Linked DNA regions of Homo sapiens: region 1 is linked to region 2. Evidence: promoter capture Hi-C in 16 types of primary human blood cells and fetal thymus (Javierre and others, 2016). All regions are on one chromosome and are shown on one strand. The core of a region is centred on a gene start or on the middle of the fragment in contact, and the rest is flanking DNA. Distances in the headings are between cores, read along the strand shown. Region 1 overlaps ZFP82 (ZFP82 zinc finger protein). Region 2 holds the start of ZNF829 (zinc finger protein 829).

What was found. Contacts are between HindIII fragments. The CHiCAGO score rates a contact against its expected background, and 5 or more counts as called.
Region 1: a fragment that was not itself captured here is called in contact with the fragment with the promoter of ZNF829 in region 2 in 1 of 17 cell types (total CD8 T cells); the score reaches 6.2 in total CD8 T cells.

What each region holds. Positions count from the first base shown.
Region 1 is chr19:36,389,226-36,395,711 of GRCh38, reverse strand. ZFP82 (ZFP82 zinc finger protein) reads left to right here. Exons shown (of 5, transcript NM_133466.4): 5 at 1,602-6,486. The coding sequence ends at 2,971. Among named protein-coding and RNA genes, the nearest start is that of ZFP14, 13 kb to the right of the region's middle. The HindIII fragment of the contact is 206 bases long and covers 2,075-2,280 here.
Region 2 is chr19:36,913,050-36,920,464 of GRCh38, reverse strand. It overlaps ZNF829 (zinc finger protein 829), which reads left to right and starts at 4,174. Exons shown (of 6, transcript NM_001037232.4): 1 at 4,174-4,454; 2 at 5,214-5,335; 3 at 5,443-5,500. The coding sequence starts at 5,298. It overlaps ZNF568 (zinc finger protein 568), which reads right to left and starts at 4,133. Exons shown (of 7, transcript NM_198539.4): 1 at 3,874-4,133; 2 at 2,817-2,886. RefSeq lists enhancers at 4,049-4,428, 4,489-4,538. The HindIII fragment of the contact is 8,467 bases long and covers 1-7,415 here.

The sequences.
Region 1 (6,486 bases), core at 928-3,427, 520 kb after region 2:
GTCTAGATTTCAGCTTTTTAATAGAGACCACCTTATCATAATTGAAAACCTCATCCTGTTTCTCTCTCATACACAACTCATTCAGCTTGTAGATTTTCCTCTGGCTGTTCCTGTTGCTGGCTTGCCATCCTCTGGCCTACATGTAACGTGACTTCTGTTAGCAAGTCCTTCACATTCAGATGACTGCAACAGTTGAACATGCACATTACTTTTTTCCACATTTCTGAGTTACAGGCATATCCTGTCTTTTTGTGCCATGAATTTCATAAGAACTTCAGTAAGATATAGACGTGTTTTCCTGTCCGAAAAATCACTGATACACATTTCCTAAAAAAACAGGAATGGCCTTGACTATGAGGGAATGGAAAGGAGAAAACCTGAGCAATGGGAGGAAAGAACAAAACCAGTTGAACATTTGTCAAATGAATGAGTAATAGAATAAGTTGAAGGGAAGATTGAGTAGGTAGAACTCCTCAATACCTTTGCTATGGTGTAGAGACAAAGAAAAAGTTACCCATAGCTATGTGAAGGGGCAAATGGGCAGTGCACTGCATAGGTAAAGGCATAAGCAGTGGCAGATGCATAGGAATATACAGCCACCTATTTCCATTCTTGTATTTAGCTGGGCTGCCCTGGATGAATAAAGAGAATATTTAATCACTGTAGTAAGGCATGAGAGACTAGAGGCAGAGAGATACATTTAGAACAAGTATGTAGCTATGGGAATTAAATGAGTAAAACCTATTATATGCTTAGCATTTATTACTTAATGTAGCGTTAACTAGGGATTGTTTCTGTCCTTGAGGAGGTTTATAGGTAAGAATAGGCAGTATAACAATTGGAGAAGTTAATAAATATATAATTTTTAAATTGAGAGCTATTATAAAGGCAAGGAATAGAGAATAGCAACATGGATTTAGGTACTATCAATAGGGTCAACCTTAAAGGAAATGACTTTTAATCTAAGATCTCAAGATGAAAGGAGCCAGCCATGCAAAGAGCCCAATCAGGAGATTTGTGGGAGATAGAACAGACTGTGAAGAGTCCTAAGAGATGGAAGTAAGTTAGGACATGTGAGGTCTGCAAGGAGGCCTCTCCAGGGAGCAGTAAAGGGGACACTGGTTTGAGATCATATGATGTAGGTAAGCAGAGGCCTTCTTAACCACAGTGAGCTTGACTGGATTCTGAGAATGAAGAAAGATGAAAAAAATTTAAGTATAGATTCTCGACCTCTCATCTTCATCAGAATTATCATGTAGAGAATATTAAATATCCTTCCAGGACTGCAGAGTCTGATCCAGGTGGTTTGGGTGGTGTCTAAACCTCAGTGTTAGTAACAAGCTATGTGGTGATTCTGATCCACACCTCAATATGAGAACCACTGACTTAAAATGTTTACTTCATCACCAATCTTGCTATTTTGTATGAACTCTCATTTTTCCTGATGTTCCCTTTGGCTTTTTTTTTCTTTCCAAATTGTATAACAATATTTTAGAGTTTTGGTTAAGGATTACTTTTGTTGTCTTTTATTTCTACATTAGAAATGTTGCTTCTTTTAGTAAAAGAAAACAGCATGTGTTTGCTTTCTTGTTTTATTTTAGATTTGGAGACCAAGTATGAGACCAAGAAGTTATCTTTAGAAAATGACATTTATGAAATAAATTTATCCCAGTGGAAGATAATGGAAAGAATTGAAAACCATGGCCTTAAGGGTCTCATTTTAAAAAATGATTGGGAATCCACAGGAAAAATTGAAGGACAGGAGAGACCTCAAGAAGGATACTTCAGTAGTGTGAAAATGCCATCTGAAAAGGTGTCCTCTTACCAGAAACGCACATCTGTTACTCCACATCAGAGACTTCATTTTGTTGATAAACCCTATGAATGTAAGGAATGTGGGAAGGCGTTCAGAGTGCGCCAACAGCTTACTTTTCATCACAGAATTCATACTGGTGAAAAACCGTATGAATGTAAGGAATGTGGGATGGCCTTCAGACAGACTGCACACCTTACTCGACATCAGAGACTTCATTCTGGTGAAAAACTCTATGAATGTAAGGAATGTGGGGAAGCTTTCATATGTGGTGCAGATCTTAGAGTACATCAGAAAATGCATATTGGTGAGAAGCCCTATGAATGTAAAGAATGTGGGAAGGCTTTTAGGGTACGAGGACAACTTACTCTGCATCAGAGGATTCATACTGGTGAGAAACCCTATGTGTGTAAAGAGTGTGGAAAAGCCTTTAGACAGTACGCACACCTGACTCGGCATCAGAAGCTTAATAGTGCTGACAGGCTCTATGAATGCAAAGAATGTGGGAAGGCCTTTTTGTGTGGCTCTGGTCTTAGAGTACATCACAAACTTCATACTGGTGAGAAACCCTATGAATGTAAGGAATGCGGGAAGGCCTTTAGAGTGCGACAACAACTAACACTCCATCAGAGAATTCATACTGGTGAGAAACCCTATGAATGTAAGGAATGTGGAAAGACCTTTAGCCGTGGTTATCATCTTATTCTCCATCACAGAATTCATACTGGTGAAAAACCTTACGAATGTAAGGAATGCTGGAAAGCCTTTAGTCGCTACTCACAACTTATTTCACATCAGAGTATTCATATTGGTGTTAAGCCCTATGACTGTAAGGAATGCGGGAAGGCCTTCAGACTACTTTCACAACTCACACAGCATCAGAGTATTCATATTGGTGAGAAACCTTATAAATGTAAGGAATGTGGCAAGGCCTTTAGATTGCGCCAAAAACTTACTCTACATCAGAGCATTCATACTGGCGAAAAACCCTTTGAGTGTAAGGAATGTAGGAAGGCCTTTAGACTTAATTCATCCCTTATTCAACATCTGAGAATTCATTCTGGTGAGAAACCCTATGAATGTAAGGAATGTAAGAAGGCCTTTAGGCAACATTCACACCTTACTCATCATCTGAAAATTCATAATGTAAAAATCTAAGAAAGTCTTTTCAACTTCTGTGTTATAGAACATTCTATGAATGTAGTAATTAATCTATTTTGCTCCATACATGCAACTGCGTTGGCATTAGAGGTTTTATACCATTAAAAGAGTGTGACAATGTATTGTAGTCCATCATCACTCAAACCTGAAACTTCAGCATATTTGTTCTAAAAACTAATCCTGTTATAAGAATGAAAAAGACATTTACCGTCATCCCTATCCCATCACTTTGTGTCATACTGGACAAGACGCTTAACTGCTCTGTGCTATAATTTTTTAATTTATGACATGGTCATATAAGAGTGCAGCAGTTTGACACACTTTCAATCAAGAGGTGGAATCTACATCCCTCTGTTGTATACAGGAATCTACATCCCTCTGTGACTGCTTCGCCCAGTAGAATATGGTAGACGTACTGCTGTGCTGGTTTCTTGACTCAGACTTTACTGGTAGGGTTACTTCATCTCATGAAATGACAGAACTGTCTTGTTACAAAGTCTGGCTACTTTGCTGAAGAGACCACATGAAGAGGCCCTGAAACTACGTAGAGAGGGAGAGGCACCTGCTGAACCCTGTCTTCTTGACATCCACCAAGATACCAGACATTTGAGTGAAATTTTGGATCCACCAGACCAGCCACCAGCTAAATGCCAGTGAGCGACTTGGTAACCTGAACTGATGCCATGTAGAATGGAAGAATTGACCAGCTGAGCCCCTGGCCCAAATTTCTGACCCACAAAAACATGAGATATAATAAAATGGTTGTTGTTTTAAGCCACTAAACTTTCTTTTATTATCATACTAAATATTTATTTTTACATAATTCATACTAAAGGCTGTGGGCATAATGAGTATAGAAATGCCTTCCACCAACATTTAATCTTCATTGAACTTGAGATATCTTATTCTCGTTAAAATATTGAAAGTAAGGAATTCCTTTCCAGTTTGTTCATTAAAAAACAGATACCCTAGACCAGGTGAGGTGGCCCATGCCTGTAAATCCAGCACTTTGGGAGGCCAAGTAAGGACGATTGCTTGAGGCCAGAAGTTCGAGACCAGCCTGGGCAACATGGTGAGACCCTGTCTCTACCAAAAAACTTTAAAAATTAGCTGGGCATAATGGTGCATGCCTGTAGTCCTAGCTACTCGAGGCTGAGGTGGGAGGATCATTTGAACCCAAGAGTTGAGGCTTCAGTGAGCTGTGATTGTACCACTGCACTCCAGCTTGAGTGACTGCAAGACCCTGTCTCAAAAAAAAAAAAAAACTACAATCAGTATTCTCTGGCCCCAGTCAATATTAAAAATTGACAAAGGATAACATGAAACTTTGGAAATTAAAAGTCACCTGTATTATGAAGCCCCATTAATTTTTTAAACTACTTCATTGTTTTTTAAAAATGCTAAATTGTCAATTTAGCATTTTGAGGCAATCCCCTCAAATTGGCTCCTGTGTCCTTTTATCATGACCACTCCAACCTTTGAGCTTTTTTTTTTCCTGAACCAAATGCATTGATTAGTTATGGAGCATACTAGAGCATTATTAACAAATAAAGGAAAAGAATGGAATATTTACCTTGCCTATCCTTTACAAACTATATTTCAAGACAACCAAAAGTTGGTGAAGGAAAGTTGTTGATTAGAGAATTCCAACTGGTTAAAAGGTCAAAGGAGGCCAGGCGCGGTGGCTCAAGCCTGTAATCCCAGCACTTTGGGAGGCCGAGGCAGGTGGATCGTGAGGTCAGGAGATCAAGACCATCCTGGCTAACACGGTGAAACCCCATCTCTACTAAAAATACAAAAAATTCGCCGGGCGTGGTGGCAGGCGCCTGTAGTCCCAGCTACTCAGGAGGCTGAGGCAGGAGAATGGCTTGAACCCGGGAGGCGGAGCTTGCAGTGAGCCGAGATCGCGCCACTGCACTCCAGCCTGGGTGACAGACCGAGACTCTGTCTCAAACAAAAAACAAAAAACAAAACAAAACAAAGATCAAATGAATGATAGAATTTGAAAACTACGCTCTTTAATTTTACAAAATCATGGATTTTCGTGGTGATAGCAATGGATGCGAAGACCATTAGGTGAAAAATGGATAGGAAGCTTATAATGCATGGAGCAGAATGACAGGACACTAATCTATATTAACATCTCTAAATGAGATCAGCCAGATGAACTTGATGTGATGAAATGGATACACACAGTGGACACCTGTGAAGTTTTCTTGGCTCCCCCAAAACTGAGAAGTACAAGTTAGTCTCCAAACCTAATTACCAGTTTACAGGAAACATGGGGAATAAAAGAACAAATTAACAACACAAAGAAGCAAACAACCAAATGCACAATTTGGGAAATTCTGCAGAAGTAATGGCCTAGTTTTTTAACCAATACATGTCAAAAAAAAAAAAAAAAAAGACAAAAATGGAATCCTACACTTTAAAGGAGACTAAGAAACGTATCCTTCAAATACAGTGTATGGAGCATTTTAGGATCCTTGTGTTAAAATGCGCTTGGGATTTGTTTTAATCAATCATGGTGAGACAGGCAGACATGGAAATTATTGTCATGAAGGAAGAAGTTTATACGCAGATCCCACAAACGGGAGGCATGGCATGGCATGCAGGGTCACGTAAAGAAGCACCTGGGTGTATCAGGAGGCAGAGGGTGAGAGCACAGCATGGCCCAGAGCTTTTATTGGGGGTTTTCATGGGAAGGAATGGACAAGGCAGGGGTAGGCACACTGGTAAGCTTAGGATTGAATAGTTTGAGTAATTTTGTTGGTCTCTGGGATCTAGGGGGGATTCGTAATTGTCTAGTTAGGGCAGGGGAATATTGAATTGGTGTATGAGAGTTTGGTAAAGGAGATAGTTGGGAGTATGGGCTCTGGATTGGTTGGTTTGTATATGAAAGGCATGCTTGCAGTGGAGTTTATCATCTATGCATTAGCTTGCCCTGGGAGGGGCAGCCTATCCAGGATCAAGGCCCCAAGTGGCCAGAGCATCAGGAATACAGAAAATAAAGAAAACATAGTCAATACAAGATTTGAAGGAATAAAATGTCTCTACATATTGTACAAATGTAAACATGGATTGGTTACTAAATGATACGAAATAATTTATTGTTCATATGTTAGGCATGACTATGGCATTATGGGTATATGTGTATGAGTCCTTAAGTGTTAGAGATTCATACTGAGGTATTTAAGGCTGAAATGTTATGCCTGTGATTTACTTTTAAATACTTAAAAACAAAAGGTGGGAGGGATAGATGAAACAAGATTAGCAAAATGTTGGTAAATGTTTAATCTGGATCATTAGGTACACAGGGTTCATTGTGCCGTTCTTACTATCTTTACATATATTTTAAATTTTCCATAATAAAGTTTTTTAAAGTAGAAAATCAAGTTTGGGCCAGGCGTGGTGGCTCATGCCTGTAATCGCAGTACTTTGGGAGGCCAAGGTGGGTGGATCATTTGAGGCCAGGAGATCAAGACCATCCTGGCCAACATGGTGAAACTCTG
Region 2 (7,415 bases), core at 2,925-5,424:
TTTTAGTAGAGACGGGGTTTCACCATGTTGGTCAGCCTGGTCTCTAACTCTTGACCTCCTGTAATCCACCCGCCTCGGCCTCCCAAAGTGCTGGGATTATAGGGGTGAGCCACTGTGTCCAGCCAGCTTTTCAATTTTTTAAAACTTTTTGACTCTTGTAGTAGCACATAGCTTAAAATGCATTGTACAGCTGTACAAAAATATTTTTTCTTTATATCCTTATTCTATAAGCTATCTTCTTAAAAATTTTTTAACTTTTTAAACTTTCTTGTTAAAAATTAAGACACAAACACCCATTAGCCTAGGCCTACACAGTGTCCAGGATCATTGGTGCTGGCTTTCACCTCCACATCTGGCCCCACTGGAAGATCTTCAGGGACAATAACACACACAGAGCTATCACATTCTATGATAACAATGCCTTCTTCTGGAATACCTCCTGAAGGACCTGAGGCTGTTTTACAGTTAACTTTTTTTAAATAAATAGGCATATGCTCCAAAGTAATGATAAAAAGTATAGTATAGTAGGCACATGAACCAGTAACATATTTATTATCATTACCAAGTATTATGTACTGTACATAATTTTATGTTATACTTTTATATGACTGGCAGCAGAGTAGGTTTGTTTACAGCAGCATCACTGCAAACACATGAGTAATGGTATTGTGCTACAGTGTTATATTGGCTAGAAAGTCACTAGGTGACAGGAATTTTTCAGCTCCATTATAATCTTACAGCAGGGGTCCTCAACCCCTGGGCCACGTACCGGTACTGGTACAGTACTGGTTCCTGGTTAGGAACCAGGCCACACAGCAGGAAGTGAGCAGCAGGTGAGTGAGCATTACCGCCTGAGCTCCACCTTCTATCAGATTAGTGGTGGCATTACAGCCTTACAGGAGTGTGAACCCTCTTCTGAACTGTGCATGCGAGGGATATAGGTTGCTTGCTCCTTATAGGAATCTAATGCCTCATGATTTGAGGGACAACAGTTTCATCCTGAAACCATAACCCTCCCATCCCCCAGTCCCTGGAAAAATTGTCTTCCACAAAACCACTCCCTGGTGCCAAAAAGGCTGGGGACCACTGTCTTACAGGACCACTGTCATGTATGTATATAGTCCATACATATATGGCACATGACTATAATTTAGTTATATATACTGTCCACCCACCCCCCTCAACATAAACTCCATGAAAACAAGGACTTATTTTTGTCTGTTTTTGATATTCATAGTAGGTGCTCAAAAATATGCTGATAAAATGGTTCAGTCATTATCGAAAACACTATGACAATCAAAGATTAAAAACAGACATTACCACATGTATATATAAAAAACTGAAAGCAGGGACTCAGATAGTTGTATACCCATGTTTGTAGCAGTGTCACTTGCAATTGCCAAAAGGTAGAAGCAGCCCAAGTGTCCAATGATGAATAAATTGATAAACAAAATATTTATCCATATATGACATACTTATCATTCGGCCTTAAAAAAGGAGGAAATTCCAATACATGCTAACATGGATGAATCTTGAGGACGTTATGCTAAGTTAAATCAGGGTCACAAAAGCACAAACAACATATGATTCTGCTTATATGAAGTATTTAGAATAGTCAAATTCAGAGACAGAAAGTAGAATGGTAGATGCCATAGGCCGGGGGAAAGGGGGGTACAGAGTTATTGTTTGATAGGTACTGGGTTTCTGTTTTGCAAGAAGAAGAGTTCTCTGGCTGGATGGTGGTGACGGTACCATAACAATGTGAATGTACTTCATGCCACTGAACTGTACACTTATATATGGTTTAGATGGTAAATTCTATGTTGTGTATTTTACCACAATTAAATATACATGTGTGTATACATAGTTGGTCCTCCTTATCCACAGGTTCTGCATCCTCAGATTCAATCAGCCTCAGATAAAAAATACAGTTAGGCCTACTACAGTTGTGTCTGTACTGAACACGTACAGTACAGATTTTTTTCTCATTATTCCCTAAACAATAACGTGTAACAATGATTTACACAGCATTTACATTATATTAGGTATTACAAATAATCTAGAGATGATTTAATGTATAAAGAAGGATGTAGGGACTTGAGCATCTGTGGATTCTGGTATCCATGGGGGGTCTTGAAACCAACCCCTCCTGGATACGAACTGTATATAGAATAAATGAGCTACTACTACTAATTTGGGGATTTAAAACTAGAAGAGAATAGGCTGGGCATGGTGGCTTACGCCTGTAATCCCAGCACTTTGGGAGGCTGAGGTCGGCAAATCACGAGGTCAGGAGATCTACCATGGTGGCTAACATGGTGAAACCCTGTCTCTGCTAAAAATACAAAAAATCAGCCGGGCGTGGTGGCGCGTCTGTAGTCCCAGCTACTCGGGAGGCTGAGGCAGGAGAATCGCTTGAACTCGGGAGGCGGAGTTTGCAGTGAGCCGAGACCGTGCCACTGCACTCCAGCCTGGGTGACAGAGCGAGACTCCGTCTCAAAAAAACAAAACAAAACAACAACAACAACAAAAACTAGAAGAAAATAATATATGAGACAAGAATAACACAGAAATTGGTGGATATTTTGGAGTTCAAGTATTTTAAAGTCTTAAGGTTGAGTTTTGTTAAGCATGCATATTAAAAAAGGATAATAGCAGAAACCAACCTAGGGGAGAAAAAGGGATAAGGTGAATTTGCACAATAAAAAAAGATATATGTGCAACTATTATATGTCAATCAAAAATGTTTAAGGCGTAATAGAAAATAAAACATTTTTTATGAGCAATCATGATAAATGCCACTGAACTATACTCACCTATTAAAATAACAGTCAAACAAGATAAACGGATGTAAGCCCAGCAATATGCTCTTTACAAGACACAGATCTGAAACATAAAGACACAAGGGGGTTAGAAAATGAAATTCTTAAGAAATACAATAAAACTTGAAAAGCAATATTATCAGACAAAAGAGAACCCGGACTAAAAGGCATTCACCAGGATAAAGAGGTATGTTTCTTAAGGTGGTAGACTGGAATTTTAGTCCAATTCCTCACACCCTCTAATAGATTATTATTCATACTCTTTGCGAGGTAACTTTGCTCTCCAACTGTGGGCATAATTGATTTTAGGCTTAGCCATGTGACTTGCTCTGGTTGAGGCAATCTCTCTTGCGCTCTGGTGACCCATCAGGAGCAGAGCATGCCCTGGCAACAAATGTCCTTTTGGCCTGAGACCCTGAAAGAACACATGCGGCGCAGATCTTAACTCGTCACGCAGCCTATCCACTCAGCCAAGCCCCACCTAGATCAGCTGAACACAGTCAATGCGCAAGCCTGTGAACAGGAGAGTAAGGACTTGCTGTTGTATGGCATTGAGTTCAGGGGTGGTTTTTAGACATAATTATTATCATGGCAATAGCTAACTAACATACATAAAAGCAGCAAGTCATAAGATAATAATGAACCTGAAAAGTTCGCCAAGGAATAGTGGAAAATTACAAAGGGCCAAGGGCTACTAGGGTAAAAAAGACAGCAAAGAAGACTACAGAGGAGTGGCCAACAAGGAGGGAGGATCAGTAGAAAACAAATAAGTGTTTTTCAAGCCGTTACCAACTGTGCCAAATGCTACAGAAAAGCCAGCTCAAGACAAGAACTACTAGACATATTACAATCACGCACACTTCGCCACGTTCACACTCGCTACAGCCTTAATCATAATCACACACATATCACACATTTCATCATAATCCCGCGCAACCAAATATCACAATCACCCCATCAGATTATTCGTGCCGTCACACTCACACACACAACCACACACCCACACTAACTCCCATCACAGTTTTTTGTCCCATCAACTGCAACCACTCACCATTAGCGTACCCTGAGCACTCCCCACTGCCGCTACTCGGGACACTCTGGGCCTTAGAGGATCCGTGTCCCGTCAACCGCGAGTCCCTTGCTCGCCCCCTGCTGCGGGGACTCGGCAGCGTCACCTGCCGGAAACACCCGAATGTTCATCCCGCGCGCAGTTTCTGAGATGCTGGGTGAAGGCGACCCGCAGATAGGTCTGTGACAGACGCCTAAAGCGCCGAACCATCCCTCCGCGCCAGCGACGTTTCCGAGGACAACACCTCCCAGCAGGCCCCGCGGCCCCACTCAACTTCCGGCCAGAACACATCTGCTTTCCTGTGTGAGGGTGAGGCTTGGGCCGGGTTCCCCGGGAGGCTCATCTCCATTGCGCAGCGCTACGGCGACCCGCAACTCCGAGGCTCGGCTGGATGTTGAGAGTTGAGGGAGCAGCCGTTTCGGGTGGGCCCAGGCGAGGAGCTGACAGGAATCGGCGTGGGTCCCGCTCTGGACTACATTTCCCAGAGGGCCTGGTGGCCTGCCACTTTTCTCGCAGGAATTCGAACGTTTCGTCACTCCTGGCGGGACCCTTAGATCTGGGAGGTGAGATATTTTGGTCCCCAGGAGAACTGGCTCAGGTCTGCAAGTTCCCATCCGGGATGACTGGAAAGGGCTTAGGTGAGGATACCGAAGACCGATGGGGAGCTGGCGCCTTGGGCCCCTGCGGGCGGAGCGGCCTGAAAGGTGGAGGTTGTGTTTGGGAGGCCGAGGCAGGAGGATCACGAGGTCAAGAGATCGAGACCATCCTGGCCAACATGGTGAAACCCCATCTCTACTAAAAATACAAAAATTAGCTAGGCATGGTGGCGCGCGCCTGTAATCCCAGCTACTCGCAGGCTGAGGCAGGAGAATCACTTGAACCCGGGAGGCGGAGGTTGCAGTGAGCCGAGATCGCACCACTGCACTCCAGCCTGGCGACAGGGCAAGACTCTGTCCCCACCCCACCCCACCCCCCCAAAAAAAGAGGGGAGGTTGTGAAATTGTCTGGGAGATAATAACACTGCGGCTTATGTGCGGATATGGGATACCTGTCACTGTGGGGGTTGTGGCTGTGTGTTCCCGTGGTGATGTGTGATTGTGACTCTGCGACAGTGTGGGGTGCCTACGATTGTGCAGCTGTAATTGTGTGTTTCCTATGGTGTGTATGTGATTGTAACTGTGTTGCCGTGTGTGGCTCCTTGTGGGCAGGTGAGACGTGCATGTCGCCTTAAGTGTGACTGTCCCTAAATGTATGTGGCATTCTGTGTATGAGTATGGGGTCCTGTCAACTATGCGATTGTGACTCCAGAACTCTGTCTCTAGGAAACCTCTCTGAGGTCTGGTCAGATTCCAACCCTGGACAGCAGTGAACACAACCTTTCCCCTGAGCCACTGGAATTGGACAGAATGCCCCATTCTCCTCTGATCTCCATTCCTCATGTGTGGTGGGTAATGGGGCTGGGGAAGAACTCTTACTTGACTAATCTGGGTACCAAGAAAAACCTGGTGTCTCACAGTTACTCTTCCCTCTCCCAATTTTACCTTTCTCCAGGTGTCACCCAGAAGAGGAGGAAAGAATGCATGATGAACTTCTACAAGCAGTATCCAAGGTGTGTTGGGGTTTCCTCTTTTTCTTCTGAAAATTCTTGCTTAAAGGAATGTCATTTAATTATAGGTCCCTATAATTTTCCCATCACAGAAAAGGATGGTTGCTCCACTTATGCTTGCTGAATTTTCTTCTCAAATATTTATTCTGATTTAAAAATAAAAGGATGATTAATTTAGAGATCTCAAAAACACAGCATTACCAAGAAAAAATAAAATTTAGCCACTCAGATAACTAGGGTTAATATTTTAATGTATTTTCATTATTTGTCAAAAACCAAATTTTATTTCATTTACCATTTGATGTTCTACATTTTTGCAAAAAGAAGTGTCAGAAATATTCTCCCATGTCATCAAATGGTCTTGGGAAATACATTTTTGATGTTTGCAAAAACTATGATATACAAATCAGACATGCCAGACTTTTAAATCCTCATTTGAATATATATCTGTACTTATACCCGCCCACCCCCACAGGTTTGAATTTGGGTTTCCGTGATTAATAATAAAATTGAACATATTCCATATGTTTATTGGTTTTTAGTCATCTTTTGTGACATGTCAGTTCAAATCTTTACTCATTTTTCTCTTGGAATAGCTCTTATTGATTCGTATGAGTTATTTATGTAATCTGGATCTCAGTCCTTTATTGATTGTTTTCCTACTATTTGGACTATTTCATCATTTCCTGTAAGATGATTTTATGATAAGTTCTAATTTTTAAAAAGCTGAGTTTATCAATATTTTTTCTTTATGGTTAGTGCTTTTTGTATCTTTTTAAATAAATCCTTCCCTGTCCCAAGGTCATGCAGATACTCTCCTATATTTATGCTTAAAGCCATAAGTTTCACTTTCATGTTTAGATATTTTATATAGTTGCAACTGGTTTTTGTATATGTTATGAGGTAAGAGTCAGATTCCCCCCTCCTTATTAATACCCAGTTTATCAATACCATATATTGGAAGGTCTATTGTGTTCTCATTGGTCTTCAAATATACCTAGTGTCTATATGTGCATGGGTATGTTTATGAACTCTTTATTCTCTTCCACTGATTTTTTATATTCCTGTGCCAGTATCATACAGTCTTGATTAGCTCGTCTCCCTTGATGGTAATCTGCCTTGTCTTCCTCTGACTGTTTTGTTTTTGGCTTTCTGTAATTTTAGTGTAAGATATATAAATGTGTTTTATTTGTCTGCTTGGGATTTGTAGAGTTTTAAAATTTATGGATGGATATCTATTATTAGTTCAGGAAAATCTTCAGTCATTATACCTTCAAAAAGCCCCCGTATCATTCTCTCCCCCTTTCCTTCTCAGGTTCTAACTAAACATATGTTAGAATTTCTTCTTCTTTTCTGTGTCTTATCTCTTTTTGGTTTTTAGAGTTGATACTTATAGCTGAAATCAAAGCAAACAAAAGAACCTTGCCTCATCTCAGGAGGGGGCAGTGGGCATGGCAGGCAATTACAGAGTTTTTGGATTCTTCCTCCAAGTAATAATAAAAATATCTTTATTCAGTTTGTGTTTCAACACTTCTAATCTTGGGGAACTCACTAAATTGTAAGGTTATCCATTCACCAGGTAATCATTTTATCTGAAAATTAGAGGATACATACTAGGATAGAGGACTCAGAATAGTGACAATGTTTTCTCAAGGTGTAAATTTGGAACTCTGAGTGGGCCTACTCTCAATTTTTAAATTGTATGTGTTTGGTACAGATGCAGAGAAAATCAGGATAAGAATAAGTCTAACTAAGTATTTTGTGTAAGGCCTTTCTATCTGAATTTCTTTTAAAGAGGACTGAGTCTTCCCTCTCCTGTGCCAAAGCCCAAATAGAATATCTGCTTCCCCTCTTGCATCAGTCTCTAGTTACACTTCTCATTTCTATAGAGAAGATTGTTGCCCAGTATTAACGGGAA